2 separate regions of the Homo sapiens genome follow, and region 2 is linked to region 1. Evidence: promoter capture Hi-C in human tissues and cell types (Jung and others, 2019). All regions are on one chromosome and are shown on one strand. Each heading gives the region's core, a stretch centred on a gene start or on the middle of the fragment in contact. The rest is flanking DNA. Distances are from core to core; before and after follow the strand shown.

Region 1 (5,614 bases), core at 2,333-4,832:
ATTACAGGCATGAGCCACCATACCTGGCCCCATGATTGCATTTTTTAAAAGTACATTGGAAACTCACTTTTTTTCCAGTGGGTACATTTGTATGTATGCAAAAATATTTTTTATAAATCTGAAAGGACAGTGCAGAGTGAGACCACACCTCATGTGTCTCTGTTTGATCAGGGATCAGTGCACGGCCCACGGCAACATAGTAGGTGCTTCTAAGATGTTTGCCACATGGATGGCAGCGTTGGGCAGCTGCTGAGGACTTATGGAGTGATGGACCCAGAGTCTCGTGAAGGGCCTTGAGAGGATTCCTTCTATACTGGCTCCCTCCTCATCCCATCCGCCCCCACCTTCCACTAAGCCCAGAACCCACAGCTCCATTCTGGCTGTGGCATCCCTGGGTCTGTCCACTCCCTCCTCAGCTTCAGATTCAGCCCTAGCCCTGTTCCTCTATTTTTCTGAGGACTGGCCCCAGTGTGTATATGTGTGTGTGTTGGGGGAGCTGACTGTTACTTAGAAACTGGGATTGGAAAAAAGCAAGTTGATTCTGGCCCAGGCCATTAACTAAACTATCCTACTATAGTCTTGGATCAAGTACTTCCGAATGAGAGGGAGCACTGGGTGGGTACTCGTGAGCCTGATGGCTAATGTACTGGGAAAGGACATGAACAAATGTTCTAGAAAGGTGCCTGGTCTGGTGGGGAGGCCTGCCAGCTTTCCGAGCCCATAAGTCCTTGTCCTAGTCAGCTTGGGCTGCTGTAACAGATGACCATAGACTGATGTGGCTTAAACCACAGTTATTTCTCACAGTTCTGGAGAGGCTGGGAAGCTCAAGATCAAGGTGCCAGTTTTTGGTGAGGGCCTTCTTCCTGGCTTGCTAATATGCATTTTCTTGCTGTGTCCTCACACAGCTGGGAGGGAGAGCTCTGGTCTCTCTTCCTCTTCTTATAAGGACACTAATCCCATTATGGGATCCCACCTCAAGACCTCATCTAAACCAAATCACCTCCCTAAATCCCCTCCTCCAAATACCATCACATTGGAGGTTAGGGCTTGAATATATGAATCTTGGGAGGACCCATACATTTGTAGGGGAAAGGTTTCAAAAGCAGGGTGTTTGGCATGCTTTAACTCAGACTTCAGGGTAAATAGTGAATATCAGAGGTTCTGGATGAAGCTTTTGACACAGGCAGAAGAGGTAGAGCATGCAGGGAACTGGTAGGAAGGAGGAGGCCTACTCTTCATCATTATGACTGGCTCCAAAGCACAGGCTTCATTCAGGCAGGCACACATTCATTTAACGTCTTTTAAGGGCGCAGGCCCTGGCTAGCACTGGGCAAGTGCTAGGGACCCTGAGTTGAAACAGAGTGCTTGCCCTCCTGGAGCTTACTGCTGTCCATGAGACAGGTCTCAATGGAAAACTGCAAACTTTTACCTGGCCTCCAGGTTTTGCATGTGCCATTTTGTCTGGTACACCCTGCATTCCCTTTGTCCTGTCCCCCGAGCTGCTCCTACCCATCTGGCAGGTATGGGCAGGTGGGGCTGTTTTGGGGAAGTTTCCTCAAGTCTGGATTCTGAGACGCTAGGGCTTCTAGAACATGGCACCTCTTGCCTCTCAAGGCTTGCCATTGCAAGGCTGCCCCTCTTGTTTGCATGTCTGTCTTCTCCATGACACCTGAGCTTCCTGAGAACGAAACAGTGAACCACCATATCCTAGGTACCCACTGTGGCCTGCTTCCTGCAGGGAGAGGGTACAGTCAATGAGTGAGTGAATGAATGAATTATACGCTATTGCAAATGGCTGGTCCCTGAGCATGAGGGGTATCTGAACAGATGTGTAAGTATGGTGATTAGAAACAAGTGATAAAGGTTTGAGAAATAATATAAAAAGCCACTGCAATGACAAACACACCCATCCACCTGCTCGAGACTAACAACCAACTGTTTTCTTGATCCATAGCTGCCAGAGGAACATGCCTCTGTCTTACTGGGTTTCTGAGATTTGCAACCTCTGCAGCTGGGTTCTAGCCAGAGAGGTGTAAAGGTCAAAAATGTTAGATCGTTCAGTCACCTTGTATAAGTTAACATAATATTATTTTTTCTCTCTCTCTCTTCTTTTCTTTTTCTTTCGCTTTGGAGAAGGTCTCATTCTGTTCCCCAGGCTAGAGTGCAGTGGCACAATCAGGGCTCACTGAAGCCTCAATCTCCTGGGCTTAAGTGATCCTTTCACCTCAGCTCCCCCGCCGCCCACCCCAGTAGCTGGGCCTACAGGCACAGGCCACCACACCCAGCTAATTTTTTCATATTTTTACTACAGACAGTTTGCCATGTTGCCCAGGCTGGTCTTGAACTCCTGGACTCAAGGGATCCGCTGGCCTCGGCCTCCCAAAATGCTGGGAATACAGGCATGAGCCCCTGCGATTGGCTTATAACATTTCTGTGCCTCAGTTTCCTCACTTGTGAAACAGGAATAAGAGTAGTTTATTAGGGTTGCCCTAAGGACTAAATGAGAGAGGTCTTGTAAAGTCTGAGGGATGGTGAATGCATAAATGCTTAATAAGTGCTGGCTCTTACTACAAGGCCTCTCACCTCCAGCGGCCCTGCTCTGTCATTCTCTAAACCTCAGTTGGCCCATGTGTAAGATGGGAGTGCGAATGGTAATGATTAAATGAGAAAGTAAAACTGTGCTAAGATCTGTTGTTTGTGTCCAAGAGAGCCTCTGGGACTACGCTTCGCATCCAGGCTCACCAGGCTGGGGATTCCGGGTCCGGCCATCCAAAGCAAATCTACTCAGTGCGCTGGTCGCGAGGACCACCTCCAGCCTGGGGACTTCAGGCCACAACGCCCAACCCAAACCCCAGAACCGTTTTTCTCACGGGAGCAGGCTGCTGTGGGTTCGTCTGACTGATAAGGAGGCCTGATTATTCTCCTGGGAGATGACCAGGAAGGCCATGGAGGGGTCCCCACAGTAGGGGGCGGCGCACGGACTGCAATCTGGTTATTCCAGGAAAAAGAAATAAAAAATGTTGCAGAGGCGGCGGCCACAGGGCTGGGAGCCGGTTATCTCTGGGCCACCTTCCAGCTCTGATAACCGTAGGCCGGGCTCGCCGGGTGGGGCGGGCGCCCCGAAGTGGGCCGGGGCGCCGCGGCCGGTAGCCTCTGCTTTGCCCAGCCCCTCCCGCTACGGTCGGCGCCGGGTCTCCAGGCCTCGCCCAGCCCCACGAGGAAGCGGCGCGGTGCCTGCCAGCCGAGCTCACCGCGCGCCCTCAGCCGGACAAGGTGGGCGAGGGCCAGGGGGGCCGCTGCTAGACCCCGGGGCCCCGCCCGTGCCCCCCTACCCATTCCCGCTCCCCCAGCACCCGGGGCGTCCCCCGGAGCTTACTCTGCAGACAGCGGGCTGCGGCCAGGCAGAGGGCGAAGAGTCCTAGGGAGATGCCTCGGGTCTTCCTCCTCCCGCTGGGCAGAGGCCTCATGGGCGAGCCCGGGGCCTCGCGGGCCGGGGTGTGTGCTGGCCGCACCGCGCTGCAGCTCCTATGCAGCCTTCTCTCTTCCTCCGCCTCTGGCTGCCGCAGGTTCTTTAGGGCCAGATGCAGATGAGCTGGTTGTACTCTGGTTGAACCAGTTCCCAAGGATGGGGGGGCGGGGGGGGGGGGGTGTTGCGCGGGAGAGAATTAATATGGGAAGGAATGGGAATGCACAGACTCAGAGGTAAATAATGGCAAATAATGAGCAGCCTCCTTCCGTTCACACCCATTTTACTGGTATTGATTCAAGGTTCGGCTGGATGCTAGGTGGCAGGAAGGAGGGAAAGTACTAGCTATTGCTTCAGGACAGAGCTAGTCATTGGCATCATGGGCAAAGGGAAGGCTTTTAGGAAAGTGAAATGACAGCCTGGAGTGAGAGGGATGAGGGGAGGGGGTGGGGAGACTCAGGCTGCCCTGATGGGAACCACTGCACAGTGATGATATCCATCCATCTATCCACCCATCAGTCCATCCATCCATCCCTCCATCCATCCAGGAAATGTTCACCAATCGCCTGCTTTATTTGCACAGAGCCTCGCACATGGCAGTCACTCAAATAAACCGGTGGAATGAAGCTAGGCACTGTGTTAAGTGCTGGGGATACAAGGATGTGGGCACCTGTTTAGAAATCCTAGCAAGGGGTGGGGGCTGCAAAAAATGAGCAACCGCTAGGCCGAGGCGGGCGGATCACGAGTTCAGGAGATCGAGACCATCTTGGCTAACACAGTGAAACCCCGTCTCTACTAAAAATACAAAAAAAAAAATTAGCCGGGCGTGGTGGTGGGTGCGTGTAGTCCTAGCTGCTCGGGAGGCTGAGGCAGGAGAATGGCGTGAACCCGGGAGGCAGAGCTTGCAGTGAGCCGAGATAGCGCCACTGCACTGCAGCCTGGGCGACAGAGGGGGACTCCGTCTCAAAAAAAAAAAAAAAAAAAAAAGCAACCGCTGTACAGTGCATATGTCGCTAGGATCAGAGAGGCCCAGCATGCTCTGGGGGCTCAGAGCAAGTGTAATTAGTCTCCAGGAGAGGTCGATGGAGGGGTGGGGCAATCAGTTTTGGTCCAAACTAGTCATGAAATTATATTTCACTTTGTCAAAACTAGAATTTCTAGCCTCACTTGCCACAAGGGGTAGCAGTGTGACCCAGTGCTGGCCAGTGATATTTAAGGGGAAGTCTTTTTGAGGTGTTTCTGGAAAAGTTTTTGCTTTCCTCATAAAAAGGACAGCTAAGGCTGGGACTTCCCCTCCCCCTTTCTTTCTGCCTTGAAAACATTTATTCTGTTCAGATCTGTGGCATGTGTCTTGCATCCATTAAGTTACATAAATGAATGCAAAAACCATCATGCTAAGTAAGGATGGTGGAGCAGGAAGATAGAAAGACCTAGAAGGGCCGGGTGTGATGGCTCACACCTGTGATCCCAGCACTTTGGGAGGCCGAGGCAGGTGGATTGCATGAGCCCAGGAGTTTGAGGCCAGCCTGGACAACATACTGAGACCCCATCTCTACAAAAAAAATATAAAAATTAGCCTGGGCATGGTGGCCCACGTCTGTAGTACTAGCTACTTGGGAGGCTGAGGCAGGAAGATCACTAGAGCCCAGGAGGCAGAGGTTGTAGTAAGCCATGAATGTACCACTGCACTCCAGCCTGGGTGACAGAATGAGACCCTGTTTAAAAAAAAAGATAGGAAGGAAGACATAGAAGACATCGTAATCCACTGTACTTTCCTATCTCCTTCTGGTTTCTAAAGGAGATTTCTTGCCAATTCCGATGTGTTCCTGGTGAGGCCGACACTAGTGTTACCCTGCTGACTGGCTTGGGGTGGGCTTGTCAACCATGCTGTCCATTTGAAGTACCCTCTCTGCCAACCAAAGTATTTGGTTCAAGAATGGGCAGACAGGGCCATCAGCGTCTTCCCTGGAAATGTGTGGCCACTGCTGGCATACTAAAAATGGGATATGAACCTGGGGGTACTGGTGGACCATCTTGTCTGTCATGTGGAGAGGCCCTGGATTAAGAATGAAACCAAGATGAGACAAACTGAGTGGGGAACTGAGGAAAGGGATAAAGGCCTAACTACACGGGTTGGGCTCTGGGATT
Region 2 (5,614 bases), core at 1,864-4,363, 660 kb after region 1:
TATTTGACTTTTTTCCCACTGCTTCTTGATAAAAACTAAGAACATAATGTTAAAATAGCATCATGAGTCAATCAAATGAAATCTAGGTGTTTTTGCTTTCAAATTATATAAACCCATATTAGGTAAGGATATAGTGAATATAAGTCATTTAGAATAACTTTTTGGAAATTATTTCTGCCATTTGGACTTCTGATAGGTGAGTTGCCATAATTCACCTATCAGAACTCATGGTGAGTTGCCATAACTCACCCATCAAATTATTTCAGCCATATGGACTTCTGATAGCCGAAGGGCTTAGCAAAAGCCAAGGCATGTTGGCAGTAACATAGCTGGGTGAGAATGGCGATGAATTCACTCCAAACATGTTAGGTAAAAGTTATACACACACGTACAAACATGTCAACAACTCTGTTCAAATCAAATCTTAGGCAGAATGTGAGCTCAACTACATAAGGGCAGGGATTTTTGTATGTTTTGTTCATGGCTGCATCCTTAGCACATATAATAGCTCCTGACACAAAGCAGTCATTCAATGAATATGTATTAAATGAATGAGGAGTGCCTGAACTGCCTGGAGAAACACTGTGGGTACTGGAGAGCAGTTTGAAATTCAAACTCATGTTAAGAAAAATCTCTCAGAAAATAGTGCAAAAATACAGAGATATAAAAAAGGAACGCAACCTTTCCACACAACCTTTTAATTGCCTCTCGCTCTCTCTCTATATATATAGATAGATATAGATAGATATCTCTCTACAGAGAGAAAGAAAGAGAGAGCGATCTCCTGCTTTTGCTATGTGAGCTGCCTGTTCCTCCTTTGCCTTCCACCATGATTGTAAGTTTCCGGAGGCTTCACCAGAAGCCAAGCAGATGCCAGCATCATGCTTCCTGTAAAGCCTGAAGAACTGTGAGCCAACTAAACCTTTTTTCTTTATAAATTACCCAGTTTCAGGTATATAGCAATGCAAGACTAGCCTAATACAATTGTCATAGTAATGTAAACAAATATTACTCTAGCCAAAATTTCAATTTATCTATAATGGGAGTATAAAGGAGCAATAAGTATATGTGACACAGGGAGTATGAAAGAGAGAGAAATCTCGTCTTTCATCGTAGGAAATCAACATGATATCTAAAATTGAAAAACATAAAAAGCAGCAATATAAGGATTTGGTATTAAAAGTGTTTGGCTCTGGGGTACAGTGGAGACAGAAGAGGTCTCCTATATTTGGTTGCAAGCCTTGTAGAACGATTTAATACTATAAAACAATGCACATTCAACTTCCATAAAATTAACACCACAACGTAATCCATTTTTAAGGCCTGCAAAACCAAACCAAGACAAAAGCAACCTTATGCTCCAAATAAAACCCTGAATTTTTCTACTTGCTCTTCAAATTAAAATTTGCTGAATTTGATTTCATCTGTAAAGTTAGTTATTAGTTTGTTATTTTGTGAATACAAAAGAGCTTGGAAACTACAATGTGCTTAATATAATAATTCACAACGTGAAAGTTGGGAATCCTCAGTATTTACTTATTCAATCACGTTGCGTGTGTGTAGCAGGGAGCAGGACGCGACAGGCACAAGGCTGCGTGAAACCAGCGACGGTGCCTTGCACTCACCTGCACACCGGTTCCACTTCTAACTTTTCTGTTCTGGGCAGTGATCTGTTCTGTCGGCTTGGGACCAGACTTCTGAGTCCACATTCCAACGGTGCCGCTTCCTAGCTATGAGGCCTTATGCAGTTTCCTTCGCTTTTTCTGAATCTCGGATTCTCTGGGAATAGTAAAGCCTCTCTTGCCGAGCTCGTGTGAGAAATTAACAATAAATTAACGAGAAATTAATGGAAAGTCCTTTGCTTTGGTCAATGATAATAATAACCCCAGCCCCATAACTTCAGCACCTTCTTTGGTGCGCGGAATACCTAGGGCCTCGGAAGGCCGGCTGGGGGCGGGGAGAATCGGCAGTCACTATGGCAACCCGAGACGCCTCGCATGCTGGGCTGCCTGCGACTGAGCTGAGAAGGAAACCGTGCCCAGGGCTCTCGGAAGACCGCTGCGGCATGACAGGCGAGGAGGCGGTGGTGGTGACCGCAGTGGTGGCGCCCAAGGCGGGTCGCGAAGAGGAGCAGCCTCCTCCGCCAGCAGGGCTGGGGTGCGGGGCGCGCGGGGAACCCGGCCGCGGCCCCCTAGAGCACGGCCAGCAGTGTGAGTTCAGCTCCAGCCGCGGACGCTACTGGGAGGAGGGGCGTGGAGAACGAGTGACAGGGCAATTGGGGGAAACCGCAGTGGGACTGGCTGAGAAGGTTTGGGGCAGGGGAGGTGGAGCTGCTGCTTTTGGCAGAACCAGAGATGATGGCACTGTGGCAGAAAGCATAGGTCCATCTTTCCAAGCCCTCCTTCCCGATAGCCTGCCTGAATTCAGGGTCTGGGCATCAGCTCCAATTTAATCATAGTGGCGTTATTCTGAAAGGAATTAACACACACACACACACACACACATTTATATGTATACCATTTTATATACACATTTGTATATGTATATGTGTATGTATGTATGTATGCGTATACACCCTTAGAAACACGCAGCTCATTTTGCCAGTTATTTCATTTTACAGATGAGGAAATTGAGATCTAGACCAGAGGAAAGAGACTTGCCACAGCCAGTCAGTGCAGGCGAAATACTAAAATCACTTTTAACTTCCATCTCTTGGACTCTCAGTCTACAATTACCCAATCCTTTTAGAATCTCATAATTATGGGCTACATTTTAACGCACTGTTCTTTGCTCTCTGCCCTGACAAACACACAATATTCAAATAGGTAAAGACAGTTCTGGCCCACAGCCATAATGGAAGTGGTTGTAATTTGAGTCCTAGCCAGGTTGTTATTCACCCATACTGTTTCATGAATTAACAGATATTTCACAGCCTCTTGCACCCCCAGGTCTTCAGTAGGTGCTAAGGAATGATGGTGAGAAGAATAAGCCAGAGGAACAGAGTAGTTTCCAGCCTTCCTGCAGCACCTTCTTGACTGCATCTCTGGAGAGCAGACTGGGTTTCTCCAAGGTTCCTCTGCACCGGGAGGCCCCAGGAGGGAGGGTTGGGCTGAAGCACCTCCATACTTGTGCTTGGTGGACCACACACTCTCCTCCCCAGAGACCTCATCAAGAAGTTACAGAACTACTGCCTCCTGGTGAAAGGGGCCTCTTCCCTGGGCATCAGCTCCAGTATGACTATGAAATGTCATTCCTTTTGTTATTATTATCAGCAGCATGCAGAGGCCTTGCTTAGAGCACATAAATTCAGTATACTTGGGTAATGGAGATTCTTTACTCCTACTTAAAATTATTATGATTATTATTATTTTTAGACAACTCTGTTGCCAGGCTGGAGTGCAGTGGCATGATCTGGGCTCACTGCAACTCAGCCTCCTGGGTTCAAGCAATTCTCATGCATCAGCCTCCTGAGTAGCTGAGATTACAGGCACACACCACCATGCCCGGCTAATGTTTTCGCATTTTTAGTAGAGACAGGGTATCGCCATGTTGGTCAGGCTGGTCTTCAACTCCTGGCCTCGAGTGATCCGCTCGCCTCAGCCTCCCAAAGTGCTGGGATTACAGGCATGAGCCACCACGCCCAGCCTCCTACTTCAAATTCTATCAGGAAATTTCCCCATTAAAGATGCTAGTTTCTAAGTTTCTTTAGTCCTGTGGCTCTAGGAGTAAAAGGTGGGATTAACATTCACTCATCAATTTAACATATTGAGTCTTTATTACATGCTAGGCATTCCACAAGTTTCAGGGAAAGAACTAATGACTTAAGGCAGGTGTCCAAACTTTCACAAGCTCACAAAGTTGGGGTGGGAAAATGAAAGAGTTCCTGCCTCAGCCTCCCTCAGAACCTCCTTTTAGGGACTCAGCCTAAGTAGAGACAGGCTGTTCGCACAAGCACAAAGTACTCAGTCAATTTTTCAAATGTCTGTAATTATTGGAAAAGTCTTCAGTCTCTTTACAGCTTCTATTCCCTATATTCCCTAATCACAGTCCTGCTCTCAAACACGAAGTGTGGTTGTTTGCTTGTAAACATCCTTGAATTATATAAAGGCAGCTCCTTGAGCACCAACCAAATCTTTCATAGACTTAATGTCACCTTTATTTTTTATTTATTTTTGCCTTTTTTTTTTTTTTTTTTTTTTTAGACAGAGTCTTACTCTGTTGCCCAGGCTGGAGTACAGTGGCGCGATCTCGGCTCACCGCAACTTCCCCTTCCTGGGTTCAAGCAATTCTTTGGCCTCAGCCTTCCAGGTAGCTGGGACCACAGGCATGCACCATCACGCCTGGCTAATTTTTGTATTTTTAGTAGAGATGGGGTTTCACCATGTTGGCCAGGCTGGTCTTGGACTCCTGACCTCAAGTAATCTGCCCACCTCAGCCTCCCAAAATGTTGGGATTACAGGCATGAGCCACCGCGCCTGGCCAATGTCACCTTTAGGATCACTTGTAGTGCTCTAACCTGGCTGGCTGGCCACTTCTTCCAACAATCTCCAGTGTATCATATCACTGAAACCTGTATTCTAGGTATGAACTGATTAGTAGAGTGTGGTGGATCTATAACTGTGCGTTGTAATAAACTATGAATAATTTGTAATAACCGTAGGAGCTTGGGAGACTCAGGTAGGTGTGGCTTCTCATTTTCATTATTTTAGTTTTATGACTCAAGGAAGCTACTTTCTCAACTATAAAACAGGAATAATTATACTTGCCCATAGGTCATTGTGAGAAAGAGAAATAATAATATATATAAGATGCAATTGTTATTAGCTCTCAGGAAAAAAAACAAAAAACAACAAAAAAAAATCCAAAAAACGTGGAATAATAATTGTTTCAAAAGAAATTCTGGAATAATACTGTTCTTAGTCATACTTCTCAGTGATCACAGCTTCTCATCCTCTATACACACAAGACATCTATCGACCAATCCACTTAAAATGCTGGTAAAGGTCAACATCAAACTGCTATGGTAGAGTTTGTAGAATTTTCTTTCTCTCTCTCTTTCCCTTCCTTCCTTCTTTCTTTTTTAAATTTGCTTTCCCTTCCTTTCCTTTTCCTTCCTTTCCTTTCCCTTTCTCCTTTTTTTTCCTTTTCCTTTCCTCTTTCCTTTCTCCTTTCCTTTCTTTTGTCCTTTCTCCTTTCCTTCCCTTTTTCCTTTCCTCTCCTCTCCTTTCCTTCCTGGCCAAGTTTGTGAAACCTTTTTCTGCCTGAAAGTTCTGCCCCCTCTCCCCTCCTTTCCTTTCTTCTCCTGAGCAGGAGATATTTACCCGTACTAGCTCCTTAGTACTCTCCCAATTACCACAATTCTTCAAATCACCTTTAATGATTTCTTCTGTGCATTTTCCTAGCACCAGGGCTGAAATTTGTCAGGAGATCTGAACTGAGAGCAGGTGGTCTTTTCCTTTCTGTTGTTCTGTTATAGGCTTAGTTTTCTTCCTAGCCAAGTTTGTGAACCCTTTTTCTGCCTGAAGATCATGATTTAACAGATTAAACCAAAGTTAGGCTTCAGTAATGCTGATCCCATATTTTATTCATATGACTTCCAACTTTGGGGAAACAA

What was found. Contacts are between HindIII fragments. The study calls those that stand out against the background at their distance.
Region 2: a contact is called between a fragment that was not itself captured here and the fragment with the promoter of VSTM5 in region 1, in 1 of the 25 tissues and cell types used here (heart left ventricle).

What each region holds. Positions count from the first base shown.
Region 1 is chr11:93,847,036-93,852,649 of GRCh38, forward strand. It overlaps VSTM5 (V-set and transmembrane domain containing 5), which reads right to left and starts at 3,583. Exons shown (of 4, transcript NM_001144871.2): 1 at 3,377-3,583. The coding sequence starts at 3,467. The HindIII fragment of the contact is 15,680 bases long and covers 359-5,614 here.
Region 2 is chr11:94,510,464-94,516,077 of GRCh38, forward strand. C11orf97 (chromosome 11 open reading frame 97) reads left to right here and starts at 1,998. Exons shown (of 4, transcript NM_001190462.2): 1 at 1,998-2,210. The coding sequence starts at 2,066. It also overlaps a transcript of MRE11 not described here. RefSeq lists an enhancer at 1,656-2,174 and a silencer at 2,027-2,246. The HindIII fragment of the contact is 8,524 bases long and covers 1-5,614 here.